Linked DNA regions of Homo sapiens: all the other regions are linked to region 3. The links are contacts of gene promoters, found by promoter capture Hi-C in blood cells and fetal thymus (Javierre and others, 2016). All regions are on one chromosome and are shown on one strand. Each heading gives the region's core, a stretch centred on a gene start or on the middle of the fragment in contact. The rest is flanking DNA. Distances are from core to core; before and after follow the strand shown. Region 1 overlaps TNS1 (tensin 1). Region 2 overlaps DIRC3 (disrupted in renal carcinoma 3). Region 3 holds the start of TNS1-AS1 (TNS1 antisense RNA 1).

What was found. Contacts are between HindIII fragments. The CHiCAGO score rates a contact against its expected background, and 5 or more counts as called.
Region 1: a contact is called between a fragment that was not itself captured here and the fragment with the promoter of TNS1-AS1 in region 3, in 2 of 17 cell types (naive B cells and total B cells). The highest score is 5.8, in naive B cells.
Region 2: a contact is called between a fragment that was not itself captured here and the fragment with the promoter of TNS1-AS1 in region 3, in 3 of 17 cell types (M2 macrophages, total B cells and naive B cells). The highest score is 7.2, in M2 macrophages.

Annotation. Positions count from the first base shown.
Region 1 is chr2:217,805,218-217,810,026 of GRCh38, reverse strand. It overlaps TNS1 (tensin 1), which reads left to right. Exons shown (of 33, transcript NM_001387777.1): 30 at 36-204; 31 at 1,356-1,424; 32 at 1,920-1,952. Among named protein-coding and RNA genes, the nearest start is that of DIRC3, 17 kb to the right of the region's middle. The HindIII fragment of the contact is 1,487 bases long and covers 2,103-3,589 here.
Region 2 is chr2:217,766,865-217,771,360 of GRCh38, reverse strand. The region is part of intron 2 of DIRC3 (disrupted in renal carcinoma 3); the gene reads left to right. Among named protein-coding and RNA genes, the nearest start is that of DIRC3, 21 kb to the left of the region's middle. The HindIII fragment of the contact is 1,756 bases long and covers 625-2,380 here.
Region 3 is chr2:217,975,491-217,980,171 of GRCh38, reverse strand. It overlaps TNS1-AS1 (TNS1 antisense RNA 1), which reads right to left and starts at 1,465. Exons shown (of 4, transcript NR_135524.1): 1 at 1,328-1,465. TNS1 (tensin 1) reads left to right here. Exons shown (of 33, transcript NM_001387777.1): 3 at 1,370-1,407. RefSeq lists an enhancer at 581-1,469. The HindIII fragment of the contact is 9,016 bases long and covers 1-4,681 here.

The DNA.
Region 1 (4,809 bases), core at 1,597-4,096, 170 kb after region 3:
CTCCCATGACTCCCCCTTGGGTTGGTTTCTTCCAGCCTGCAATGTGCTCTTCGTCAACTCTGTGGACATGGAGTCACTCACTGGGCCACAGGCCATCTCTAAAGCCACATCTGAGACGTTGGCTGCAGACCCCACGCCAGCTGCCACCATCGTTCACTTCAAAGTCTCTGCCCAGGGAATCACTCTGACTGACAACCAGAGAAAGTAAGACTCCCCTGCCTGCTCCTCGGTGGGGTTCTCCTTCCTGTGACTCATCTATTCATCCGTGTACCCACACATTTACCACTTGATTGATTCCTTGCACCCAACTGCTCATCTACCTTCTCATCCATCTATCTTGCATCTACCTCCCATCTACCCAGCTACTTATCCATCCATCCATCCATGCACCCATCCATGCACCCATCCATGCACCCATCCATCCATCCATCCATCCATCCATGCACCTATCCATCCATCCATCCATCCATCCATCCATCCATCCATGCATCCATCCATGCACCTATCCATCCATCCATCCATGCATCCATCCATGCATCCATCCATCCATCCATCCATCCATCCATGCATCCATCCATCCATCCATCCATCCATCCATCCATCCATCCATGCATCCATCCATCCATCCATCCATCCATCCATCCATCCATGCATCCATCCATCCATCCATCCATCCATGCATCCATCCATCCATCCATCCATCCATCCATGCATCCATCCATGCACCTATCCATCCATCCATCCATGCATCCATCCATCCATCCATCCATCCATGCATCCATCCATCCATCCATCCATCCATCCATCCATGCATCCATCCATCCATCCATCCATCCATCCATCCATGCCTCCATCCCTGCATTTATTCATCCCTCATCTATCCCTTACCACCCGTTTTTCCCTTCATCCATCTGTATCTCCATTCATCTATCCATCCACCCATTCATCCATCCTTCTATGAGAATTTGCCAGCATTGGGTATACGGCTGTAAATACAACTGATAAAAAGGACCTGCTTTCTAGGAGCAGAGCCCGTCCACTTGGACTCTCTCCTAACAGTGTCCCTGGCCTCTTTGCTTCTTCTTCCAGCCCCTCCCCACATTTCCTATTCCTCAGTGCCAGTTTCTTCCTTCCCCAGCCCCTAGCATTTGGGATGATTCTATGGCACATCTGTCTCTGTACATTGCTTGGGTCACCAGTGTCAACAGCTCAGGCCATCTTGCTCATAAGAGAGAAGTTGTGTGGACCTGCGATAGCCACAGATGGTGGAAAGGTGGCCTGACCTGCTGGTGGAAGGAGGGGAAAAGCAGCCCCTTCAGCACTCATTCTCTGTTTATCTGATGTCTGTGCTGCAGGCTCTTTTTCAGACGCCACTACCCTCTCAACACTGTCACCTTCTGTGACCTGGATCCACAGGAAAGAAAGTAAGTCTCTTGTACACAGCTTCTCTCCCACACAGCTTTCTAACACTGACGTCTGTGTGGGTGCATGCATGTGCATGTGTGTGTGTGTGTGTGTGCATGTGCATACATTCTCCATTCAGCTGGAAGGTCTGCCCATGTGTGAGTAATCGTGTTGGGCATCTTTTGAGTCTTTCCCACTATAGATATGGAGACCCTCCCAGGGACTCAGTGCCCACTGCTACCCCCTCTGCCATGCCCTGACCTTGAATCTGCTTCTCCTCTCCATGATGGGGAGAGCCCCTCAGGAGGCAGGCTGCAGTGTTCTCTCGACCTTGAATGCATCTGTGTGATCTTGGGCAGCTCCTGTCCCTGGGGAATGGGGGAATGGGGGAATGAGGGGGGAATGGGGGGCAGCTCCTCTCCCCAGACCTTCCTGCAGAGGGTCTGGGCATGGGTGGGGCTGGGCTCTAGGGAGAAAGTACGATGATTTACCCTGAGCCCACTTTCTCTCCACAGGTGGATGAAAACAGAGGGTGGTGCCCCTGCTAAGTAAGTGTGACTTCTTACCCCTGCCCAGCAGGCTGGCCTTTGTACTTCACAGTGAGGGAAGCACGGGGCACATTTAGAAACCAGGGCTGGGGGTAGGGAAAGAGCAGCAAAAACCTTTGTGCCAAGGTCACTCAGCTTCCGAGTGAAGCTTGACCAGGCTTCCAGGCCTTTTGCCTTGTCCTGCCTCGAGGCCAGAGGCCCAGCGTCTGGTCCAGCTGCCTTCACTCTCCCAGGGTTAGAAGCAGCAGGGATGGCAGGAAGTGGACAGAAAACAGTCTTATTAGAAGCAATGGAAATGGGTCAGAGATTGCTTACATGATCTTTTCTGCCCCAATTCTAGCTGCCTTTATTTCTGCTCTTGCTTTTTTGGTGGGCTTTCCTGTGAGTCTTGTGGCCGAGCAAATCAGCCTTATCAGAATGTGGGAGCCCAGAAAGTCTGAATTCTGGGGATGGCCCTGGGACCTTCGGGTGGATTCCTCCATCCAGCAGACATGTCCTAGGGGCCTCCAAGGGACTCAGATCCTGCCTGGGTCTCTGACCCTGCCCTCAGGAGGCCCATTGGCACAGCAGATAAGACAGATGTCTAAATAGCACTAAGATGCTTCTGTGATTTTCAAACTGTATTCCAAGGATCCTAGCATCCTTGGATTGTACCTGATGTACAGAAGAGAGGGAAAGCTCTGCTGCTCCTTGCAGTTGTCTATCAGCAGTAACTAGGGTTTTTTCACAATCACAAAACCAAACAAAATATAGGCATAACCTGGGGTCTGAAGCTGACATGAGACTATCACCATGATCTGTCATCTACTTTTCACTTTGTCAGGATTATTCCAACAGCCCTATTATCCTCACTGATTGACTTTATAATAGGTAAATGTCGTGCTTTTGGATTGCTGTTTATAGCTGTAAAATACTGCTTTCACCTTTATATATGCAGACTTCATATAAGGTTGCTTTAGAAAAACAAAACGTTCAGTGTTAAAAAAATGACAGTTGCAAGGGAGGGAGAGGCAGCAAGAGAGTTCAGCTTACGTCTGGGGAGCTCATGCAGGAGAACACATCAGCACCTCAGAGAGGTGGAAAGAGCAGATATTTAAGGACGGGTCTTCAAAGACAGGTTCAATTTGGACAGGTCAAAATGAGAATGGGAGTAGGAGGGGCTATTTCAGGGGAGGGGCCTCATGGCCACCAGCCTGCAAGCTCCCCAAGGGAAGGGCCATGTCTGACACATGGGGAGGTGGTATATATTTGTTGAGTGAAGAAATGAGAGAATGGAGGCTGGAAGAGCAGAGGCAGGAGGAGGCTAGTGAGAATGCCTCAGTCCGAATGAATGGACTGACTAGTCTATCACATGGTCAGTGATGGTAGCTTAGGAGAGGCCATGTGGGATGGTGGGGTTCAGCCTTGTCCAGGCTTCATAGGGTCATCAGTGCTTTGAGTTCCTGCATTTCCCGTGTCTCTGCTGGCCAAGGCAGCAGGCTGGAACTTCCTGTTTGAAGGGGCTTGTGCTCACTCACCACAGGGCCCTGCGAGGGAAGAAGGTCAGGGACAGAAGGGAACTGGGCCCCCAAGCCTGGAAATCCCTCTTTTCCTCCTTCAGGAGCTGGTTTTGAGTTGAGCCTCCTGCTGAAGAAGCTTTGATGGGTGGGGCAGAGGCCACAGGGAGAGGCCAAGCAGGGCAGTGGGCTAACAGGGAATCATGACAGGGACGAGGTGAGGCCAGCCAGGGATCTCATGTGCAAAATTCAAGGAGATGTTAGATCTTGGGATCTTGCAAGCGCTTCCTCCTGCCCTTGCGGGCTGAGGCTTCTTGCCTGGATCTATTCCTTGTGGCAGATGACAGGACTGGGCTATTGCGGGAGCCTGGAAGCCACAGCTGAAAGAAATATCAGGGGAGGGCAGGCTCGGTGCTCCAGTCAGGTGCAGTTGCCGGGTCTCCATCCTGGTAGACACCCGCAGCCAGGGCTGGCATGCTTCCTCCCTCTGCCAGGATCACCCCCACCCCTGCTCATGGTCTGAGCCAGCTGGGAAAGGGAGGTGCTGGGGGATGCCCTGTGGACCCCAGCTCCCCCACCACCTGGGCATTACCCCAGGCCTTTGGCCCTGTTGCTCCTGGCCCCTGAAACAAGACTGGAGGAGCAGAGCTGTAGGAAATGCTGGATTATGTGTGTGTGTGTGTGTGTGTGTGTGGTGTGTGTATATGTTGTGTTTGCGTGTTGTGTGTGGTGTGTATATGTTGTGTATGTGTGTGGTCTGTATATGTATGTATGCATGGTTTGTGTGTGTGTGGTGTATGTGTGTGTGGTGGTGTGTGGTGTGTATGTGTGGTGGTATGTGTGGTGTGTGCAGTGGTGTGTGTGTGGTGTATGCATGTGGTGATGTGTGTGATGGTGTGTATGTGTGTGGTGATATGTGTGTTGTGTGTGTGTGATGTGTGTGGGTGTGATGGTGTGTATGTGTGTGGTGTGTGTGGTGTGTGGTGGTGTGTGTTGTGTGTGTGGTGTGTGTGGTGGTGTGTGTGGTGTGTGGTGGTGTGTGTGGTGTGTGTGGTGTGTGTGGTGTGTGTGGTGGTGTGTGTGGTGTGTGTGTGGTGTGTGTGGTGTGTGTGGTGGTGTGTGTGATGGTGTGTATGTGTGTGGTGCATGTGTGTGGTGGTTTGTACACACAGGCACACAGGGACCAGCAGAATCCCCCTTTGCTAACTTCAGCTGCCGTGGTCCTGCGGTAGGGAGAGGGGTTTTCATAGGAATCTCCAGCTGTCCTCATTTCCCCATCTCGCTCTAATTAGCAACATGCTGGCTGGGAGGGGACCTGAGCTCACATTCTGTTCTCTGCCCTCATATTTTTAACTCTGTTT
Region 2 (4,496 bases), core at 253-2,752, 210 kb after region 3:
CACTTATGTCTTGATGTCAGCTGAGCCCAGTGAATGGGAAAAAAAGTTTATAAGGGACCATTAGGTTTAATAGTGAGGGGCACCTCTCCTATTTCTCTCCCTTAGTTACTGAATACACACATTTTCGGCTATGAGAGCAAAAGAACCATATTATTAGTCTCCAGTTCTGAGTATATACTGCATGCTGCAAATGACACCCAACTCTCATAAGGTGTTGAGTGAGTCCAAATTGGAGCTGTGATTGAGCCTTCAACAGGTTTGTTCACTGTTCTATTACTCCACCTGCTTTGGGATGATGAGGTTCCATGATAAGACAAGTGTATGCTGTAGAAATAAGCCTATCATCCATTGCTTTAAAATTATTTTTCCTGGACAGAAACAATGTTGCAAGGGATTGGGAGGGTAATTCAAGTATTCGGAAAGTCCATAGATGCTGCTTTTAGTCAAACTACAACAGGCAGAGAAGACAAATGCATATTCCAGGAAATGTCTATTCCAGCAAGGGTAAATTGCTTCCTCCTCCATGATGGAAGGTGTCTAATAGGGTGGCTACATACTGTACTGGGCACTCAGTATTGGTCTCTGCAGCTGAGTACTCAGCAATAGTGGAAGCTGGATCAAGCTTAAAGGGAAATCCAAGCCCTTGTGTAACCTCCATCCCTGCTATTGTGGCCACGTTGTTAGTGAGCCCATTGAGCAAATACTGGGGTGTCTGGGTAAAGAGGTCAATGGAGATCCATTGAATAGGCCATCTTGTCTACCTGATTATTGGCCGCATTTGCACTTGGTAAGTGTGGTAGGCAGAATAATGGCCACCCCAAAGACGTCCATGTCCTAATCTTTGGAACCTGTGAATGTGTTAACTTACATGGCAAAGGAACTTTGCAGATGTGATTGAGTTAAGGACCCTGAGATGGGAAGATTATCACAAGAGTCCTTGTAAGAGGCAGGTAGGAGAGTAAGAGTCAGAGAAGGAGATGCAATGTTAGAAGCCAAGGTCAGAATGATGCAAATGCTGGCTTTGAAGATGGAAGAGAGCCATGAACCAAGGAATGCAGATAGCCTTTAGTAAGCTGAAAAAGGTAAGTGTATCAATTTTCTCCTAGAGCCTCCAGAAAGAAATGCAGCCCTGCTGGCACCTTGATTTTAACTCAGTGTGACCATTTAGACTCTGACTTCCAGAACTGTAAGAGAATACATTTGTGTTGTTTTAGGCTATTAAATTTGTGGTGGCAGCAATAGGAAGTGAATATAGTAATCATTGTCTTATTTCTGACTTTAACATCAATAGCTTCTGTAGTTCTCTATTCAAAACATTTTATCATGTCAAGGAAATATCCACACATTTCTATTTTATTTGCTTTTAAATTTAAATATCAAGAATGAGTGCAGAATCTGATCAAATGCTCCCCCAGAATGTATGGAGATAATCACGTTTTATTGTTTCTTAACATAATAAACTGTATTAATGGATTTTAAGGAGTTATCCTGGTATTCCTAGAATAATCCCACTTGATCCCATTTTTAATTTTTTGTGCTGAAATTTAAAAATATCATCTTTGAGGTGTAAATAACACCCAATAAGTTGAATTCACTTAAAGGGCACACTATTTTGTCAGTTGTATATAGCCACGAAACTACGACCATAATCAAGAGGCAAAACTTTTCCATCCGCCCCAAAAGATTCCTTATGTCCCATTACAGTACACCCTTCCCTCTACTCCGAGTCCCAGGTAACCACTGATTCTATTCCTTTACATGCTTCATTTTTTAAAGATTTTATATAAATGGAGTAATACTAGATATATGTCTGTGTGTATGTCTATCTATCCATCCATCCATCCATCCATATATACATTTCTGCCTTCTTTTCCTCTGCCTGATTTTGAGATTCTTCCATGCTTTTGTGTTTATCAGTAGTTTGTTCTGTTTTCTTGCTGAGTAGTATTCCTTTGTATAAATATACTATATTTTTTGCTTATTCATTCAGTTAAATGATGGATATTTAAGTTGGTTCCAGTGTTTTGGCTATTAAGAATAAAACTTCTGTGAACGTTTACATACAGAGCTTATTGTGGACAAATGCGTGGATTTCTCATGGGTAAATACCTAGAAATGGGCTGGTGGGGTCATATGGTAGGTGTATGTTAAAATTTTAGTGAAAGGTAAAAGATTTATGCAATCTGAAGAAAAACCAGAGTATGCTGTTTAACTTAAAAAAAAAATCCTGTCACTTCTTGGAAGTGGTTGTATCATTTCTCATTTCCACCAACAATGCATGAAGGTTCCAGTTGCTCCATATCCTCACTAACATTTGGTATTGTCAGTCTTTTTAATTTTAAACATTCTGCTGAGTGTGTTAAGAATCTTATCACAAGCTTTGGGTTTTTCTGCCTATCTTACTTTTATTTGTTTCTAATTTAATTTGGTTGTGGTTAGAGAAATATTCTGTATGATTTTAATTCTTTTAAATTTATTGAGACTTGTTTTGTGCCCAGACTATGGTAAATCTCAGCAAACACATAGTGCACACTTGAAATAAATGTGTATTCTGCAGTTGTTAGGTAGTGTTTTGTAACTATTAGTTAGGTCAACATGGCGAATATTATTATTCAGATTCCTGAATAATACCATTATTTTTATAGATCTTTACTGATGTTTCTGTCTAGTTGCTCTATCGCTTGCTGAGAGAGAGGTGTTAAAAACCTATTGTGATTATGGAATTTTCTATTTCTCCTTTTAATCCTGTCAATTTTCGTTTCATGTATTTTGAGGCTCTGTTGATAGATCTATACTCATTTACGGTTATTAAGTCTCATTGATAAATTGATCCTTTTGTCACTATAAAATTTCCCTCTTCATTTTTTGGTACTATTCTATCTTGAATTCTATTTTATCAGATATTTATATACCTAATCTAGCTCTCTTATGGTTTGCATAATATATCTTTTTGCATTCATTTAATTTGAACTTATTCCTATCTTTATATTTAAAGTGTGTTGGGTTATGTTTTTTATTGTTTATTTTTAAATGCATTTCTCTAACCTCTGTGTTTCCATTTGGATGTTGAGACCGTTAATAATTAATATAATTATTGATATGCTTAAACTTAGGTCTGCCATTTTGTTATTTGTTTTATGTTTGTGTCACTTATTTTTTGTTTCTCTTTTCCTGTTTTTCTGCTTTCTTCTGGATTGCTCAAGCATTTTTAAATTCATTTTATGTATTTATTAGTTTTTAATCTATACCTCTTTGTTTTTTTAAATTTTATTTTTGTCATTGTTCTAAGCATTACAACATATCCTTAACTTTTCTCAGTCTATTTAAGATTGCTATTGTACCACTTTACATAAAATATAGGCACCTTGTGACCATATAGATTAATTTATAACCTCACCTGCATTTATGTTACAGTTGTATTATATACATTATAAACTGGACAAGAGAATTTCACAATTTTTCCTTATTCATGTTTATTTGAAAGAAGTTATTAGAAAAATAGACTTTTATATTTACTCAGATTTATTCAGATATTCACTATTTCTGTTGGTCTCCATTCATTCCTAAAGATCTGGGTTTGCCTCTGTTATCATCTCTCATAAGCCAGAATTAATGGCTAGAACAAATTCATTTGCTTTTCTTTTATCTGCAAATGTATTTTGCTCTTACTTTTCAAGTTTAACTAGATATAAAATTCCATGTTGATAGTTTTCTTATTTCAGCACTTTAATGATGTTGTTCTCCAGTCTTCTGACCCCTGTGACATCTGAGGAGAAGTCTATGGTCATTTAAACTGTTGTTGTCCAAATAAAAATGTAACTTTTCATTTTTGTCTGGCTGCTTTCAAGATTCTCTCTTTTTCCTTGGGTCCAGTGGGTTGACCATGATGTAACCAATGAAGTTTTTATTTAAATATTTCCTGTTTGATATTTGCTGAGCTTCTTAATTTTTCACATTCCCATCTTTTATCAAACGTAGAGAGTTTCCAGACCTTTCCCTTTAAATGTTTTTTCTGCTCCATTCTCTTCCTCCTCTACTTTTGAAGTTATTCCACATGTCCTTGAGGTGCTCTTTTCCCCTTTTCTTCAGATTGGTTGATTTCCTTAAGTTCATTGATTCTTTCCTCTGTCATCTCCATTTTGCAAATAGGCCCATCCAGTGAATTTTATTTTAGATATTAAATTTTTCAGATAAAATCTCTTTTTGGTTATTTTATTTTTTTATTTCTCTGCTGAGATTTCTGATCTTTTCATTTATTTTGAGAAGGTTCCATTTACCCCATTGAGCATAGGTGACTGCTTTTAAAGTCTTTATCTGATCATTCCAACACCTGGTTCTTCTCAGGACTGAATCCCAGTTGGTTGCTTTTTCCCTTGAGAATGGTTCACACTTTTCTGGTTCTTTGTATGTCAATTATTTTGAATTGTATTCCAGACATTTTGAATGTTATGTTGTGGAGGCTCTGGAGTTTGTTATATTGTTCCAAATAGTGTTGA
Region 3 (4,681 bases), core at 216-2,715:
CTGGGCTGGGCCAGGACTAGGTTCTGAGAGAAGAAGATCCCATGTTAGGGCCAGTGGCCAAGGTCCCTTTCCAGGCACCACCCAGTGTGCTTCCCAGCTTCTCCCCCTTCCCCATGCCCAGCCCCTTCTGCCTCAGACAAATCAGAAGAAGCCTTAGTGTGGGGAACCCCGGAGCCTCCCTGGGCTGCTCCGGGCATTCATCTGTGCCTCAACCTCCCTTTCTGCAGTCTGCTGAGAATCAGGTTGGTTCAAAGCTGGAAGGGGGTGGGGTGCAATAGATCCAGGAGAAGGAGGTGGATGGCTGTGGTCCTGGGCTGTGGCTGTTGAGGATTTGGAGTCAGGGCACTCCCCTATCTCCCCCTCCCCAGTTCTCTAACCAGAGTTCCTAACCCCCCAGCCTTAGCAGGTCCTGGGCAGCCAACAAGACCCAAAGCAGTGCAAAACCCAACTCGGGAGACCCCTCGCCCACCCATGAGATCTGCAGGGAGGTCACCAAATCCCTTGGTGGAGTCCCAGAGCCCTGGGGGGTGGGGCGGCAGGGCTGGGGACATTCCAGGCTTCGGGAACCTTATAGGAAATTTGATTCCAGCTTCTGGTAATGGGAGGAAGAGCAAGTCCTGTGTGTGTGTGTGTGTGTGTGTGTCTGTGTGTTTCAAGTCATGCACATGAAGTTTATGTGAGCATCTGTTCACGTGTCTGTGTCCACAAATCTGTGTCAGGCTGCAACTGATGGTGTCCCACAAAATTGTGTGTGTTGGTGCCCTGAGTCAGGGCTCTTCCTGGATGAATCTGTGTGTGTGAGACTGTGTGTGTGTGCGTGGATGGCTGTGTGGATGGGTGGGAGTGGTTCTGGGTGAGTGTGTGGGTGTGGGTGTAATGTGTATATGCGTGGGCCCGCTCCTGGACTCTGAATTGTGTCTGTGTGTCTGTCTCTGGGGCAGAGTAAGTGTGATTGTGGTTTGCGATGTCGTCTGCCTGCCTGGTGTGTGTGTAAGGGGAGAAGGCCCCCCTTATTCCTTGGTGGGGCTGGCGTGGGGCCCGGGTCCGGGCTACCTCTGCCCCTGGCAGGGGTCCAGTGGGGGACCCCCCCCTTTGCTCCCCCCACCTTCCCGCACCCGGAGGGGCTCTGGCTCTGGGAGCCCCCTGCCTCCCCGGCCGCGGGTCCTCAGTCCCGGGCACTCCCGCCCCGCAGGCCCGGCAGCCGCTCCCCTCCGTCCCCTCCCTCTCTCCCTCTCTCCTTCCCTCCGTCCCTCCTTCCCTCCTTCCTTCCCGAGCGCGGATTGCGGGCTGGGGTGGGAGGAGATTTCGCGGAGTTTCCATTTCATACCTCGCGGCTAAAACTTTCTTTCTGTGTCTCGCCCTCTTGCAGTCTGCAGCTTCTCCTGTCATCGGAAATGCCAGGCCAAGGTAAGGGGCCGCGGGCTGGCGGGCCCGGGAGGACTTGGGACAGGCCTGGCTCGGGGTCCCAGATTGGAGCGGGGGCGCCGGCGGGGCGGGGGCGGTGCCCGGGGCGTCCCTCCTCCTCTCTTTGTTTATGCAAAGCGCCTGGGCCTGGGAGCGGGCGCAGGTCAAGGTGAAGGCGAAGGCCCGGGGGCGGGGGCAGGGGCGGGCTGGGGAATCGGGGGATCTGGGTGGGGGGCGCGGAGCGCAATCTGGGCGGTTACCGGGGGTGGCTGATGGGGACCGAGCTCCCAGAGAGCGGCCTTTGAAGGTGTTTCTGCTAGTTCTCAAGGGGGAGAGGGAAAGGGGGAGGGGATCCATTTCAATTACCCCGGGCCGCGCACAACCCCAGTTGGCTCAATTTGGCCAACCTAGAAAACCTCAGTGTCCACAGCCACAGGACCCCGAGGGCAGGAGAAGCGGGTGGGTGGGATAAATGGAGAATGAGGTCGGAGGTCAGGATTGGCTGGTCTGGAACCGCCTGAGAGACTGTCCCTTCCTCTTTATTGGCCAGGTCTTCTTTTGGTCCTCAATTTCCCCATGAGTATTTTCTGGCTGGTCTTGATGGGAAAGGGAAACTGAGGCAAGAAGACTGGAGGGATTGCTGGGCCCTGGTTGGCCAGGCTGGCTCAGCCCCTGATGTATCCACTGAGGTTTGGACACAGGAGTCATATATCAGCTTCTTGGAGTAACAGGGGGTGGGGGATTGGCACCAAGATGGATTATGAGTTTGGGAAGGAAATGGTTCTGTCCAATGGGCTCAGCTCTGCCTAGGGGTGGAAATGGCGTTCCTTGCCTTTCACTTGCAGCCAATGTCTGCACCTTCTGCCATTGTTGCTTGTAACCCTCCCTGCCCTTTCACTCCCTACGTTTGCTCTTCATATTTGACCTTTCAAGGAGTTCAGGGAGTAGAAGGAGAAGATGCTTCCAGAAGGAGCATTCATTGAGCAGTTGAGGACCTGTATCTGGTACATCTCATGTTTTGCTTCTTATTAGCTGGGTGGCCTTGGGCAAGTTATGTACCTCTCTGAGTTTCTGTTTCATTCTCAAGGATATGGGAATAAGAAGCCTACCTCATAAAGTTGTTGTGAGAATTCAATGAGGTAATGTATGTGAAGTGCCCAGCCCAGTGCCTGGCACAGGGTGGGTGCTCAAAAATGTCATGACTGATGCTCAGCTACTGGGAGCTTAGAGGGACAAGTGTTACCTTGGGGAAGGGGTGCTGACGGATCAAGCAGGTCTGGGAAGAATCTTCCTCCAAAGAAACTTTACTAAAGCCGAGCACACACCTTGCTGGAGGGCGTCTCCATCTGTAGACTCCAGCTTGGAATGCTCCCCTTGCAGAGATGCAGAGGGCCTGGCTTGCAGCAGGTACCTCCATGCAGTGGGTTTTCTGCCCCTTCCCTTGTCTTCTCCTTTCCTGCGGCCTCTCTCAGCCTTTCCTCCCCTGGATGGAGAGTACGTTTCTGCTTCTCCTTCCACCTCCCTCCTTGTTCTGTTTATCCAGAGCAGAGTTTTTTGCCTTAAACTCCAGAACTTTCCAGTTTTCTTGCTCCTCCCCAGTCTACCCCTTCGTACTGCCCTTCCTGCAACCTTTTCTTTTAATAGCAATGGACATTTGTACAGTGCTTTGGGTCTTAGACAGCATTTCACATGCATTATCAGACTTTGTTCTTTTAATTCCTTTAGAGCATAAAACATTGGCCAAAAGATTCTGTTGTTTTACAGATGAGGAAACTGAGGCGCCCCACGTTGAGTGACTTCCCCAAGGTGTCCCGGTGTAATTCTTCACCTGCTCTCTGTCCCTGGGCCTTTGTGCTTCCTTCTCCTTGTCTCTCACTGCCTACTGGCATGCATTTCTCCATCCTTGCCTGCCATTCTTCCTTTTGCTTTCCATCTCTTGACAGCAGCAGGATATATTTAGGAAGGATAAGGGGATAAACTTCCGGGCAGTGAAGGGTCTGATTGGGGGAGATGGGTGGCCCAGAGAGGCCCAGAAAGATATGACAGATGGCCCCTTGTCATGCAGTAGCCTTGTGCATGGGAACAGGCAAATGGCAAAGATGACTTTTTGGGGGCATAGCCTACCTGAGGAGTCTCTCACGTGTGCTGGGGGCTCAGAATGCACCAGGCTGCCGCAGTGCTGCTCTGCCCTGCCCAAGGAGGCCAACTAAGTGGGGGAGAGGGTAGACTGGCAGGGCAGCAACCAGGCAGACAGATGGGCTTTGTATAGGAGTTTCCTCTATAGGGAATGGGACCCACTGGTGGTGAGCGCTCCACCCAGCTGGTGGGTCTTTCTCTGAAACCAGAGCTCTTACTGCCGCCCTGCCTTTTCCTCCTGCTGGGAAGGGCAGCGGGAGCCACAGAGCCACAGCAGAGCTCTATACTGTGGATTTTATAGCCTCGTCAACCTTGAGGTCATCTTGTCCATCCCCTGCTTCTAGGCAGGATTCATTAGTAATCTCCTTCCACGGGCCAAATGCTGTTCTAAGTGAACAGATAGAGAAGGTCTTGGCCCTCATGGGTCTTGCAATCTAATAGGGGAGACAGGCACTAAATAGGCAAACAAGTTTTGAAGGGAATGAGCTGGAGCAATGGGTTAGAGAATTCTGCTAAGGTAGCCCAGAAAGACTCCTTGGAGGAAGAGTCATGTGAGGTGGGACCCAGATGATGATGTGGGGGAGGAGAAAGAGCAGGTGCAAAGGCCCTGAGGTGAGAGGAACTTGTTACGCTTGAAAGAGGGCTGGAGAGTAGTGAGTGCTGGGGAGTTTGGGCTGGAGGGACGCGATTGGATTTCCACTCTGAGAAGGCCACTCTGGCCTTGAGCAGGCACCAGGGTGGGAGTAGGGACATGGGCCAAGAGGCTGCTGATGTTGCCCACTCGAGAGAGCCTGGTGGCTTAGTCCATGGTGCTAGCCAGAAAAGCAGTGAGGAGGGGCTGGGTCTGGGATGCCTTCTGAGGGAGAGCTGGAGCCTCGCTGAGCCATCGGATTTTGGGTGTGAGAGCAGGAGTGGGCTTAAAGATGACTCCCAGATTTTGGCCAGAGTAATTGGGTGCACATGGTTTCACTTACTGAGATAGACGAGGTATGCGAGAAATTTCTAGGAAAGATGGCTCCAGGGTTTCAGCTTTGCTTGGTCTCCTTTTCACAGTCCCCCCATGCACTTGGGGTTTCTTGCTGATGTTGGTCCTCTCCTATTCAGCCTGCTGTAGTCACTCCTCTGGTAAGTGGCTGGTTCC